Linked DNA regions of Homo sapiens: region 1 is linked to region 2. The links are contacts of gene promoters, found by promoter capture Hi-C in blood cells and fetal thymus (Javierre and others, 2016). All regions are on one chromosome and are shown on one strand. Each heading gives the region's core, a stretch centred on a gene start or on the middle of the fragment in contact. The rest is flanking DNA. Distances are from core to core; before and after follow the strand shown. Region 1 overlaps STK10 (serine/threonine kinase 10). Region 2 holds the start of DUSP1 (dual specificity phosphatase 1).

What was found. The method cuts DNA at HindIII sites, captures the fragments that hold promoters and counts their contacts. A CHiCAGO score of 5 or more calls a contact.
Region 1: a fragment that was not itself captured here is called in contact with the fragment with the promoter of DUSP1 in region 2 in 1 of 17 cell types (naive CD8 T cells); the score reaches 6.0 in naive CD8 T cells.

The regions. Positions count from the first base shown.
Region 1 is chr5:172,108,184-172,115,328 of GRCh38, forward strand. The region is part of intron 4 of STK10 (serine/threonine kinase 10); the gene reads right to left. Among named protein-coding and RNA genes, the nearest start is that of STK10, 76 kb to the right of the region's middle. RefSeq lists enhancers at 2,905-3,374, 6,676-6,985, 6,914-7,145. The HindIII fragment of the contact is 9,126 bases long and covers 1-5,897 here.
Region 2 is chr5:172,768,371-172,772,444 of GRCh38, forward strand. DUSP1 (dual specificity phosphatase 1) reads right to left here and starts at 2,825. Exons shown (of 4, transcript NM_004417.4): 1 at 2,216-2,825; 2 at 1,791-1,936; 3 at 1,205-1,424; 4 at 1-762. The coding sequence starts at 2,582. The coding sequence ends at 392. It overlaps LOC105377730 (a long non-coding RNA gene), which reads left to right and starts at 3,841. Exons shown (of 3, transcript NR_188285.1): 1 at 3,841-4,074. RefSeq lists silencers at 2,173-2,282, 2,823-3,272 and enhancers at 2,312-3,073, 2,383-2,652, 3,074-3,835, 3,300-4,074, 3,836-4,074 and 1 more. The HindIII fragment of the contact is 7,766 bases long and covers 1,455-4,074 here.

The sequences.
Region 1 (7,145 bases), core at 85-2,584, 660 kb before region 2:
AAAAAATGCATAATGATGTTAATCAAAATCCCATTATAATAACAGTGCCATTATAAAATTATAATAATAGTGACACACTGAAAACAACCATAATTGCTTGGCTATCAGGCAGTGATTTTAAAACTTTTTATATAGATTAAGAAAAATGGAGGCCAGGCAGGGTGGCTCACGCCTGTAATCCCAGTACTTTGGGAGGCTGAAACAGGCAGATCGCTTGAGGCTGGGAGTTGGAGATCAACCTGGCCAACGTGGCAAAACCCAGTCTCTACTAAAAATACAAAAATTAGCCAGGTGTGGTGGTGGACGCCTGTAATCCCAGATACTTGGGGGGCTGAGGCACAAAAATCGCTTGAACCCGGGAGGTGGAGGCTGCAGGGAGCTGCAATCGCACCACTGCGCTCCAGCCCAGGCAATAGAGTGAGACTGTCTCAAAAAAAAAAAAAAAAAAAAAATTAGCCAGGTGTGGTGGCATGTCCCTGCAGTCCCAATTACTTGGGAGGCTGAGGTGGGAGAATCACTTGAACCCAGGAGGCAGAGGCTGCAGTGAGCCAGGATTGTGCCACTGCACTCCAACCTGGGCGGTATTTATTACTATTTATTAATTTATTATTATTTTTTTGAGATGGAGTCTTGCTCTGTCACCCAGGCTGGAGTGCAGTGGCGCAATCTTGGCTCACTGTAACCTCCACCTCCCGGGTTCCAGCGATTCTTGTGCCTCAGCCTCCCAAGTAGATGACATTACAGGCATGTGCCGACATGCCCAGCTAATTTTTGTATTTTTAGTAGAGATGGAGTTTCACCACGTTGCCCAGGCTTGTCTTGAACTCCTAACCTCAGGTGGTCCACCAGCCTTGGCCTTCCAAAGTGCTGGGATTATAGGCGTGAGCCACTGCGCCCGGCCTTACTGATTACTATTTATATTACTGTAAAAGGTTAAGTGGGGAGAAGGGGGATACACAGTTGAATATACTGTCTGGTCAGAATCATGCCCCTCTCACTCCAAAAAGGGGAAAAATACACACTGAACTGACTTGGAGGAAATATACCACACTACTTAAATGGCTGTGTGTGGGTGGTGAGACTTCCACACCTTTGCTATGATAAAGTGTATTATTTGCAGGACTAGCAAAAATAAATGAACACTTTTTTTTTTTTTTCATGACAGAGTCCACTCTGTCACCCAAGCTGGAGTGCAGTGGCACAATCATGGCTCACTGCAGCCTCAACCTCCCAGGCTCAAGCAATCCTCCCGAGTAGCTGAGACTACAGGTGTATGCCACCACACCCGGCTAATTTTTGTATTTTTTGTAGAGATGGAGTCTCTATGTTGCCCAGGCTGGTCTTGAACCCTGGGCTCAAGCAATCCTCCTGCCTTGGCCTCCGAAAGTGCTAGGATTACAGGCGTGAGGCACCAGGACCGGCCAATAAGATGTATCTTTACATGCATTCCAACACTCTCAGTCTTTCCTCACACACCCGCTGCTAAGAGAAGAATTCAGCGCTACCAAGAGAAATTTTCTCCAGGGCTCCTGCCTTCTGTGGTGAAGTTTCATCTTGACTGAAAAATAGATTCAGGATGAAACAACACTTTGAGAGAACCCGGGATGCTCCATTTGAAACTCCCTGAATGGAATTTATGAGGGGTGTCCCCTGCTAGATGATGGCTGCCTTTGGACGATTCATCCCAAGAAGCTGCAGCATTATGACAACTTCAGGCCACCCCGGGCACCAGTGCCTGGTCTTGAAATGAGCTGTATCCAGGAGCTCCTTTCAGACTTGCAACGTGAAACAAGGAGGCAGCACAATGCCAAGAGGCTGGGCCTGAATACGGGAGAACTTGGTTCCAGCCTCTGCTCTTCTGCTTCACTGTCCACTCACCCATTCATTCAGGTGCTCACCAGGCTCCATCAGGAGCGAGACACTAGCCGGGATCAGAGAATACAATGAGGACCCTCGGGGAATCCACAGTTTAGTTGGGGGAGCAGAGAGTAAGCAAATAAACAAACATCTACTCCTAACATGGAAAGTGTTGGGAAGACAGGACCGGGGCTACTCAAGAGTGCACAGTAGGGGGTGTGACCTCGAGGGGACGGTCATGGAGGGAGGGCTGGGGGCTTTGGAGGAAGGACAGTTTTATTCAGCATACACTAACTGCACATCTATTATGTGCCCGACACTGTTCTAGGCACAGAGATGAAAGCAACCAAGTCCTGCCTGACATGCCACATGTTATTCCCGTGGTGGCGACAGGCACCTGGCAAAACCCCCGGAATGCCTGGCAGCGAGAAGGGCCCAGGGCTGAGAAGGCAGGGAGAAGAACACAGTGCTGGGGTGCAGGGTGGGGAGCTACTTTAGACACAAACTCAGGATCTGGGGGAGGTATTTCCAGGCAGAGAAAACTGCAAACAGACTGGGAGGCAGGAAACAGCAGGCTGGAGGGACCAGCGGGGACAGGACACAGCCTGGCCGGAAGGAGGGGGCCGGGGGTGGAAGCAGATAAGGCAGGAGACGGGCAGGGCAGTTACAAAGCCTCTGAGCCTCAGTTTCCCCATCTGTGACACGGGGGTGATAGCACAGAACCATTGCGCAGGTTTTCCTGAGGATTAAATGACAAACGCAAAGCACTGTGATGCAAGGTCCACTCGTGGCAAAAGCGAGAAGATGGTGATTCTTTCACCGGCCCATGAGCCAGTCCAGCCTTTTTCAGGCTGGGGCAAGGCTGAGGCTGAACTAAGACCCCCCGGCACCTCCTGGGAGTGGTCAGGAAAGCTGGCTTCTGAGCCCCGGTTAGTGCTAACTGGACAGCAGTTGCTATATCAGGGGACAGTCTGGCCAGCAAGAGGGGACAGGGGGCCCTCAGCCTCCTGAAGTGGGACCAACAGGTGCTGCAAGTGAGGTGCAGAAGCAGGAAACCCAGGTAGAGCCTGGCTCTGCTGATGACTCTGGCAGGCGGCTCCCCTGGGCCTCCAGGGTAAGAATGGGAAGCTGGCCCCACCTTCCTGCTGGGTCAGCCAGGCCCCCCTGTGGGCCTGGCTCCCTCGCAAACACCACTAAGGGCTGGCACATCATCCCATCCCAGGAAACCTTTTGGGAACAGTGACTGCCTCTCAGGCCCAGGGTGAGGATCCCAAAAGGTGGCCACTCCCCGACCACAGGCCCTGCCGATCCCTTCCTGAGAAGAGAGACGAGAAACAGAAACCACCAACGTGCAATGACACACCGTAGGTCCCCAGGGCCTCCCTCAGGCACGCACCAGCCAGCTCTTTGGGTAGCTGCTACTTCCCCTTCTGCCCCACACGATGGGGCCCAGATGGGAGAGTGGGGCAGCCCCACCTTGCAGCCCAGAGAACTGAGCCTGTTTGCTCCCTCCGCAGAGTTTATAAGGGAGTGTCCCTTGATAGCTGATGGCTGCCCTTGAGCAATTCAAAAGGGATTTTCACCATGCAGTCTCTTCTGATGAAAACACTCCCCCTTCTCCTCCCATTTTAAAATGTATTAGAGACAAGGGCGGCGGAGATAAGGGAAATCTCCCTTTCTCCGCTGTAATTTCCATAAAGAAAGAGATCATTTCTGCTGTGGCCACAGTTGTATCCCTGGCACGTTATCTGGAGCAGGAAGCACTCAACAGGTTTATCGAATGAGCATGCTCATAAATAAATAAAGAGACAGAATTTGCTAAAATGCCTTTACTCATATATGTAAAAAATAAAACTGGGTTTTAAAAACTTGTTTGCCAGCAATTCTATTTGTAGAAATCCATCTCTAAAACCAGATCTATAATATATATGGATGCTTATAAAAGCAACAGCCAAAAAGAATGGAAAATTGGAAATCATCCAAAGTGTTGCTGGAGCTTCATTGCTGAATGGTTAGATAAGTTGTGGTTCACCCCAGCTATGAAATAACATGCAGCTCTTAAAAAGAATGAGGCTGTATTTGTATGGACTAACTTGGAAGTGTATCTCTAATACATTAATACATGTCCCAAACATGTTGCTGACTGACTGATGAGTCTTATAAAATGTGTAGCATGATTCCAGAAATGATCCAAGTGCAGGTACTCCAGTAGAAGATTATCTTTAAAGGAATAATATATGCATCTTGTGTGTACATGTCTGCACGCATGTGCATACACACACACACACACCGGTCTGGAAGTCTGCACATCAAACTTAATGTTCATCTCCCTGGAAGTGGGATTTTGGTGGGGGCAGTGCACAGAAGGGACCTTACTTTTTTTTTTTTTTTTTTTTTTTGAGACAGAGTCTCGCATGTCACCCAGGCTGGAGTGCAGTGGTGTGATCTTCGCTCACTGCAAGCTCCACCTCCTGGGTTCACGCCATTCTCCTGCCTCAGCCTCCCAAGTAGCTGGCACTACAGGCACCTGCCACCATGCCCGGCTAATTTTTTTTTTTTTAGTAGAGACGGGGTTTCACCATGTTAGCCAGGATGGTCTCGATCTCCTGACCTCATGATCCGCCCACCTCGGCCTCCCAAAGTGCTGGGATTACAGGTGTGAGCCACTGCACCCGGCCAGGACCCTACATTTTTCACTTTACACACTTTTATTCTTTTTTTTTCAGATGGAGTTTCATTCTTGTTGCCCAGGCTGGAGTGCAATGGCACGATCTCGGCTCACTGCAACCTCCACCTTCCGGGTTCAAGCAATTCTCCTGCCTCAGCCTCCCAAGCAGCTGGGATTACAGGCATGCGCCACCACGCCCGGCTAATTTTGTATTTTTAGTAGAGACGGGGGGTTTCATCATGTTGGTCAGGCTGGTCTCAAAATCCCGACCTCAGGTGATCCACCTGCCTCGGCCTCCCAAAGTGCTAGGATTACAGGCATGAGCCAACGCGCCCGACCCACTTTTGTTCTTTAAAATGTTTTTGATAGAGTGTATTGTTTCTATGGTTTAAAAAACTGAAATGCATATGTAGCAAAGTTTTTTGGTTTTGTGGGTTTTTTTGTTTTTTCTCTATTAAGTAAAACCCAGTAGGGGCCAGGATGTGGTGAAAAGAGAATTGCACACTGCACTGGGGGGGGTGTCAACTGGTATGACCAGCACGGAGGGCATGCCGGCTGCAGGATGAACAAAACCCCAACTCACTGCACACACCCAGCACTCTGCTTCTGAGAATTCCTCTTCAAGGTATGTTACAGAAAGAGACGCAAAGATCCATGAACAAGCACACTCATCACTGCATGATTTCGTAAAGATGATAAACCTCATGAGAAACCCAAGTATCCAATTCAGGGCTTTCCTCAGGGCTCTGATAGGTAAATTACATTTTGTGCCTGTGATGGGTACAAGAAAAACACGAAAATAATCATGTTTCTGAGGAATCTTTAAGGATATGGAGGAATACGCTGATATTCAATGTTAAAAACCAGACTAGGAAACTGTATATATATATAATAATCCTAGTTTATCTTATAAAAACTAATATTGTCACCGGACACGGTGGCTCATGCCTGTAATCCCAGCACTTTGGGAGGCTGAGGCAGGCAGATCACCTGAGGTCAGGAGTTCGAGACAAAAACCAACATGGAAAAATCCCCTCTCTACTAAAAATACGAAATTAGCCAGGCGTGGTGGCACATGCCTGTAATCCCAGCTGCTCAGGAGGCTGATGCAAGAGAATCGCTTGAACCCAGGAGGCAGCGGTTGTGGAGAGCTAAGATCGTGCCATTGCACTCCAGCCTGGGCAACAAAAGCAAAACTCCATCTCAAAAAAAAAAAAAAGAAAAACTAATATTTACTGAGAACTTACCATATGCATAGCACTGTGCAAAGAAACTTATGCATATCATCTGCATATCTATTCCTACACACATCGTTTATATCTATGACCCTTTAAGGCAGGGAAAATTATGACTCCCATTTTACAGATAAGGAAGCTTAACTTAAGAAAGACTAAGTAATGCACAGAAGGTCACCCAGCTGTGCTCTTTCCCACTATCTGATCCGACTTTTCTGCAGACAAAAAAAGACTTGGAGGGAAGCCCACGGAGAGTGGTGGTTTATTCTGGCAGGATTAGGAAGGACCTTAATTCTCCTTTTTGTGGGTCTTATTCCAAATTGTGTACAGGACTCTAGCTACTCTCGTGTGTGTGTGTGTGTGTGTGTGTGTATGTGTGTTTTCTGATTACCAAAGTCATGTTGCTTATTAAAAACTCATTATTTTTCAGATTAAAAACTATAATACTGACAACTAAACATTTACGGGTTTGCTGTGTATAGCTCCAAATTTATGTATATTAAAATTATATATATATATATATATATATATTTTTTTTTTTTTTTTTTTTTTTTTTTGAGACGGAGTCTCACTCTGTCGCCCAGGCTGGAGTGCAGTGGCGCAATCTCGGCTCACTGCAAGCTCCGCCTCCCGGGTTCACGCCATTCTCCTACCTCAGCCTCCCGAGTAGCTGGGACTACAGGCGCCCGCCACCATGCCTGGCTAATTTTTTTGTATTTTTAGTAGAGATGGGATTTCACCGTGTTAGCCAGGATGGTCTTGATCTCCTGACCTCGTGATCCGCCCGCCTCGGCCTCCCAAAGTGCTGGGATTACAGGCGTGAGCCACCGCACCCGGCCGGTTATTTTTATTTTCTTCCGTTTTTTAGGAACCTAGAGACGCGTGCCCATTTGATAAGGGCTTCGTCTTCCGGTTTGACCCCCCACCTTCGGCCTTCACTGACTCTCCTCCTCGCAACACACTGCACTGTCTTCCTGACACCCTCCACGCACTCACCGCCAACCCAGCCCTTTCTTGTTGCTTCCCATCCCTCAAGCTTCTGCCTCACTTACTTCCCCTCTGCTGGGCCTGTGCGATTCTCACAGGCTGGGCAGGGTAGGTAGACCGCAATTTTTTTTTCTGGCCAGTCCGAATCCTCCCTTCCTCTGAAAAACCATCTCCCCACCCACCACACTGCCTCATTGCGGGGGCGAGGGCTACTTCCGTGTTGTCACGTGACCCCACCCTCCGTGCCAGAGACTGAAGACAAGCCGGGCCTGTGGGAGACCCCCTCCTGCCTGGGCCTCACTGATTGGTCCAAGGATTACTATCTGGGCCAAACGGGGCCAGTCAGAGCCCTCCCCTGGGATTATTGATGCCAAAGCCTCCAATGGTGAGTTCGGGTT
Region 2 (4,074 bases), core at 1,575-4,074:
GACACCTACACAAAAATAAATAAGGTATATTCTCATATGTATATGTGTCGTCGGGAATAATACTGGTAGGTATGTCAAGCATGAAGAGATTCTACAAAAAACAGGGGCGAGCAAAAAGAAACCGGATCACACACTGAGTCCTTTCTCTTCTGCCCCATTTTGTCAGATGGACTTGATGTACCCACTATATATTGGTCCCGAATGTGCTGAGTTCAGCAAATGTCTTGACGCTAAGTCATCACCATAACTGCTTAGAAACCCAGAGGAACTCGGGTGAAGTTAAATAAATAAGGACCAGCCCTCTCGAGCCCCTCCCAGAGTTATTGCATTTCTCCTCTCAAGGAGCATGGAGTCCCAATGGGATGTGAAGAGCCTCACCTCCCGTGGCCTTTCAGCAGCTGGGAGAGGTCGTAATGGGGCTCTGAAGGTAGCTCAGCGCACTGTTCGTGGAGTGGACAGGGATGGAGACGGGGAAGTTGAACACGGTGGTGGTGGAGGTGCCTCGGTCGAGCACAGCCATGGCGGGGCTCCCAGCCTCTGCCGAACAGTGCGGAGCCAGCACCTGGGACTCAAACTGCAGCAGCTGGCCCATGAAGCTGAAGTTGGGAGAGATGATGCTTCGCCTCTGCTTCACAAACTCAAAGGCCTCGTCCAGCTTGACTCGATTAGTCCTCATAAGGTAAGCAAGGCAGATGGTGGCTGACCGGGAAATGCCTGCCTGGCAGTGGACAAACACCCTTCCTCCAGCATTCTTGATGGAGTCTGGAAAACCAAAGGAGCGGCTGGTTACTTGAGAGTTCAGGAGAACCACCCCAAGCCCAGGTACAGTGTATCTGAGAAAGGTCATGTGTGTCTTGTCTAGAAATGGTCAACATCACCACATGCCATCACATGGATACTGTTCATGGAGGCAACGTGGGCACTGTGCAAAGGATGGCACAGGATTTAAACTCAGACTGGGGATTTCCACTTAGCAGATAGATCTCAGACCAGTCAATTCAACTTTGTGAGCCCCACTTTGCAAATCTGTAAAGTGGGACATCGAATCAAATTCATATTTTACAGGAATGTTGCCCACACCAGACTGATACTGAATGTGTGGAAGAAGGCTCAGAAAACTTCAAGCTCTTGCCACAGAGGTTGGGCTTAGTGGCTAAAATGAGAAGAGAAAGGCAGAAAAGCCCCAGGCATCCATTCCATTTACCTATGAAGTCAATGGCCTCGTTGAACCAGGAGCTGATGTCTGCCTTGTGGTTGTCCTCCACAGGGATGCTCTTGTACTGGTAGTGACCCTCAAAATGGTTGGGACAATTGGCTGAGACGTTGATCAAGGCAGTGATGCCCAAGGCATCCAGCATGTCCTTGCGGGAAGCGTGATACGCACTGCCCAGGTACAGAAAGGGCAGGATTTCCACCGGGCCACCCTGAAATCCAGAAATATCCAACATTCATCAAGCTTGCTCAAAGCCAAGGCCAGTGCCCATACCCACAAAAACTTTCTGCTGGAAAAGTCAATTTCAGATACCGAGTGAACTCAGTTCTGTTGCTGGAGGATAAATAAATAGGGAACTAAGCCCATTTGCCTGGGCAGGACCAGCAAGTTCATTTCCGTAGAGCCTACAATTGGAGACTCGGCTCCGTCAGACCACTTAACTGTGGAATAAATCATATCCCTGTGTCCCCTCCGTTATAAATAATGCTGCAGGTCACTTTCTATATTCTCCCTGGCACTACTCTTCCATGCCTTTGCCAGTTCTTACTTCTTCCCTGTGGCAGGGACACCTACTAACCTGATCGTAGAGTGGGGTACTGCAGGAACTGCACCCAGATTCCGCGCTGTCAGGGACGCTAGTACTCAGGGGAAGGCTGAGCCCCATGGGGGTCGACTGTTTGCTGCACAGCTCCGGGCAGGAAGCCGAAAACGCTTCGTATCCTCCTGGGAATACAAAGACATTTTTTTTCCCCATTAGTGACACCGGGACACGGCACCTTCATACAACTCCCCCACCCACCAAGGGCTGGAAGTTTACATCGGAAAGGCCCAGGCAAGTCTTTGTTTCCAGAGCCAAACAAAGCCAATGACAAGTTCCAGAGATAAATGTACTCCAGCGCCCACGCGCTGCAGGTGGGGCGATCCCCCGGGAGCCGAGAGCCAGGGGTACCGGGCAAAACCTCAGGGGTGTGCGGCCCGCCCCGAGCTTCCCCGAGGGCGTACCTTTGAGGAAGAAGACTTGCGCGGCGCGCGCCTCGCGGCAGAGCGCGCCGGCCGCCAGGGCCAGGGTGCCGTCGCGCTTGGCGCCGTCCAGGGCGGCGCTGCGCTCGTCCAGCAACACCACGGCGTGGTAGGCGCCGGCCAGCAGGCGGCCGCGGAGCTCGGCGTTGGGCACGATGTGCTCCAGGCCCATGGCGCCCTTGGCCCGGCGCCGCACGATGGTGCTGAAGCGCACGTTGACAGAGCCGGCGATGTGGCCGGCGTTGAAAGCGAAGAAGGAGCGGCAGTCCAGCAGCAGGCATTGCGCCGCTCGCTCCCCCAGCAGCGCCCGCAGGCCTCCAGCGTCCAGGGTGCCCACTTCCATGACCATGGCCGGCCTCAGCGCCCCCAGCGTGATCGGCCCTGCGGTGCTCTTTGTCTGTTCTCGGGGCCAAGGGCAGGGCGGCGCTTTTCGAGGAAAAGCTAGACCCCCGGGTCTCTCTGCGCCGAACCAAAAGCCGCTTTTGGACTGAGAGAGGAGCGTCACGCGGGGCTCCGGGCTCCTCGGCTTCTTCGCGGTTCCCCCGACTGCCCCTCCGACCCGCGTCGCACACACAGCCCAAATGTCCTTCGCAGCGAGCCTGGCCCGGGGAGCGCGTTTATATGCGGCCTCTGGGGGACGGGGCGGGCCAGACCCGCGCGCAGGGGGAGGGGGGGTGTTTGTTTGAATGGTGATCACGTGACGGGGCGGTGACGTCACCCGCCCTGCCAGGCCAGGCGCCGCCGAGCCAGAGGGGGAGACGTCATCAGCCTCGGAGCTGGGTCCGCTCGCCGCGCGCTGGCTCGCGGCCCGGCCCCCGCCCTGCTGTCCGGCCTGCTCTTGGCGCGTCCCCAGGGACCGGACCCGCGCCGCGCTCCAGGCCCAGCGGGGAGGAGGAGGGCTCGCTGCCAGCTGAGGCTGACCTCCGGGATGCGAGCGGCCGGGAGAACGGGCGACGTGCCACCTGCCTTGGCCTCGCCGCTCCTCCCTCTCTCCCTCCCCGAGTCCCCTTCCCCGTGCCCCTCGGCCGCCGACCTGAACCGAAAGGGGCTTCCTGTGCTTTTGCATACTCTTGTGCCCCTTTTCCTCATTTCCTCATCACTAACAGGCGGGGAAACTGAGGTTCCCCAGGCGAAGCGACTGACTTGCCCAGAACCACACTACTGGGGTGGGGGCAGCAAATAGGCGCCTAAGATGAAGTTTAGAGAAAAATGAACAACTCTGCCGATAGAAAAGTCGTCCCTACCAAGACCGACTCGAGCGAGTTGGGGCGGAGAGGTTCAGGGCAATGCTTTCCTGTTTCCCAGACTTTTCTTTAAGGTGGCTTTAAAATATCTACATTTGCCATGAAAGTGTGAGCAAGCAAACTCCCACCGGGAAATAATGCTATTCCTAGTCTTGTGGCCCCCGGAAGACTTGGAGCCAAGGGAGGCAGGTCAGGGGGCTGAAATCCCGGTGAGGGGTCGCAAGGCCCCGCAGTGGATTCCAGGGTTTGGCGTTTGGAGGGGTGAGGGGCGACCCGCAGCGCGACTCGACGGCGCCCCCCAGGGGCCGCCCGACACGTTTCTGTCACCTTGGCTCCAGACTGAGCTTCTCCATCCCTTTCTTTATTATACAAATAGGCAGTATACACAGTGAGCGCCCACTAAGCGCTGGGCTGGGGGCCTCCAACCCGGAACAGAAGCCGGCCACAACCCTCGCTCCCTGTCGTCGCGGCCGTTATAGGCCGAAAGCAAAATCCAATCCCGGGCCATTGTGGGCGGATTGCCAGGACCTGGATCGCAACACTTGGGAAGACCCCCGCCCCGCCCAGCGATCTCCGTGCCCTGAGTCCCAGTGACGG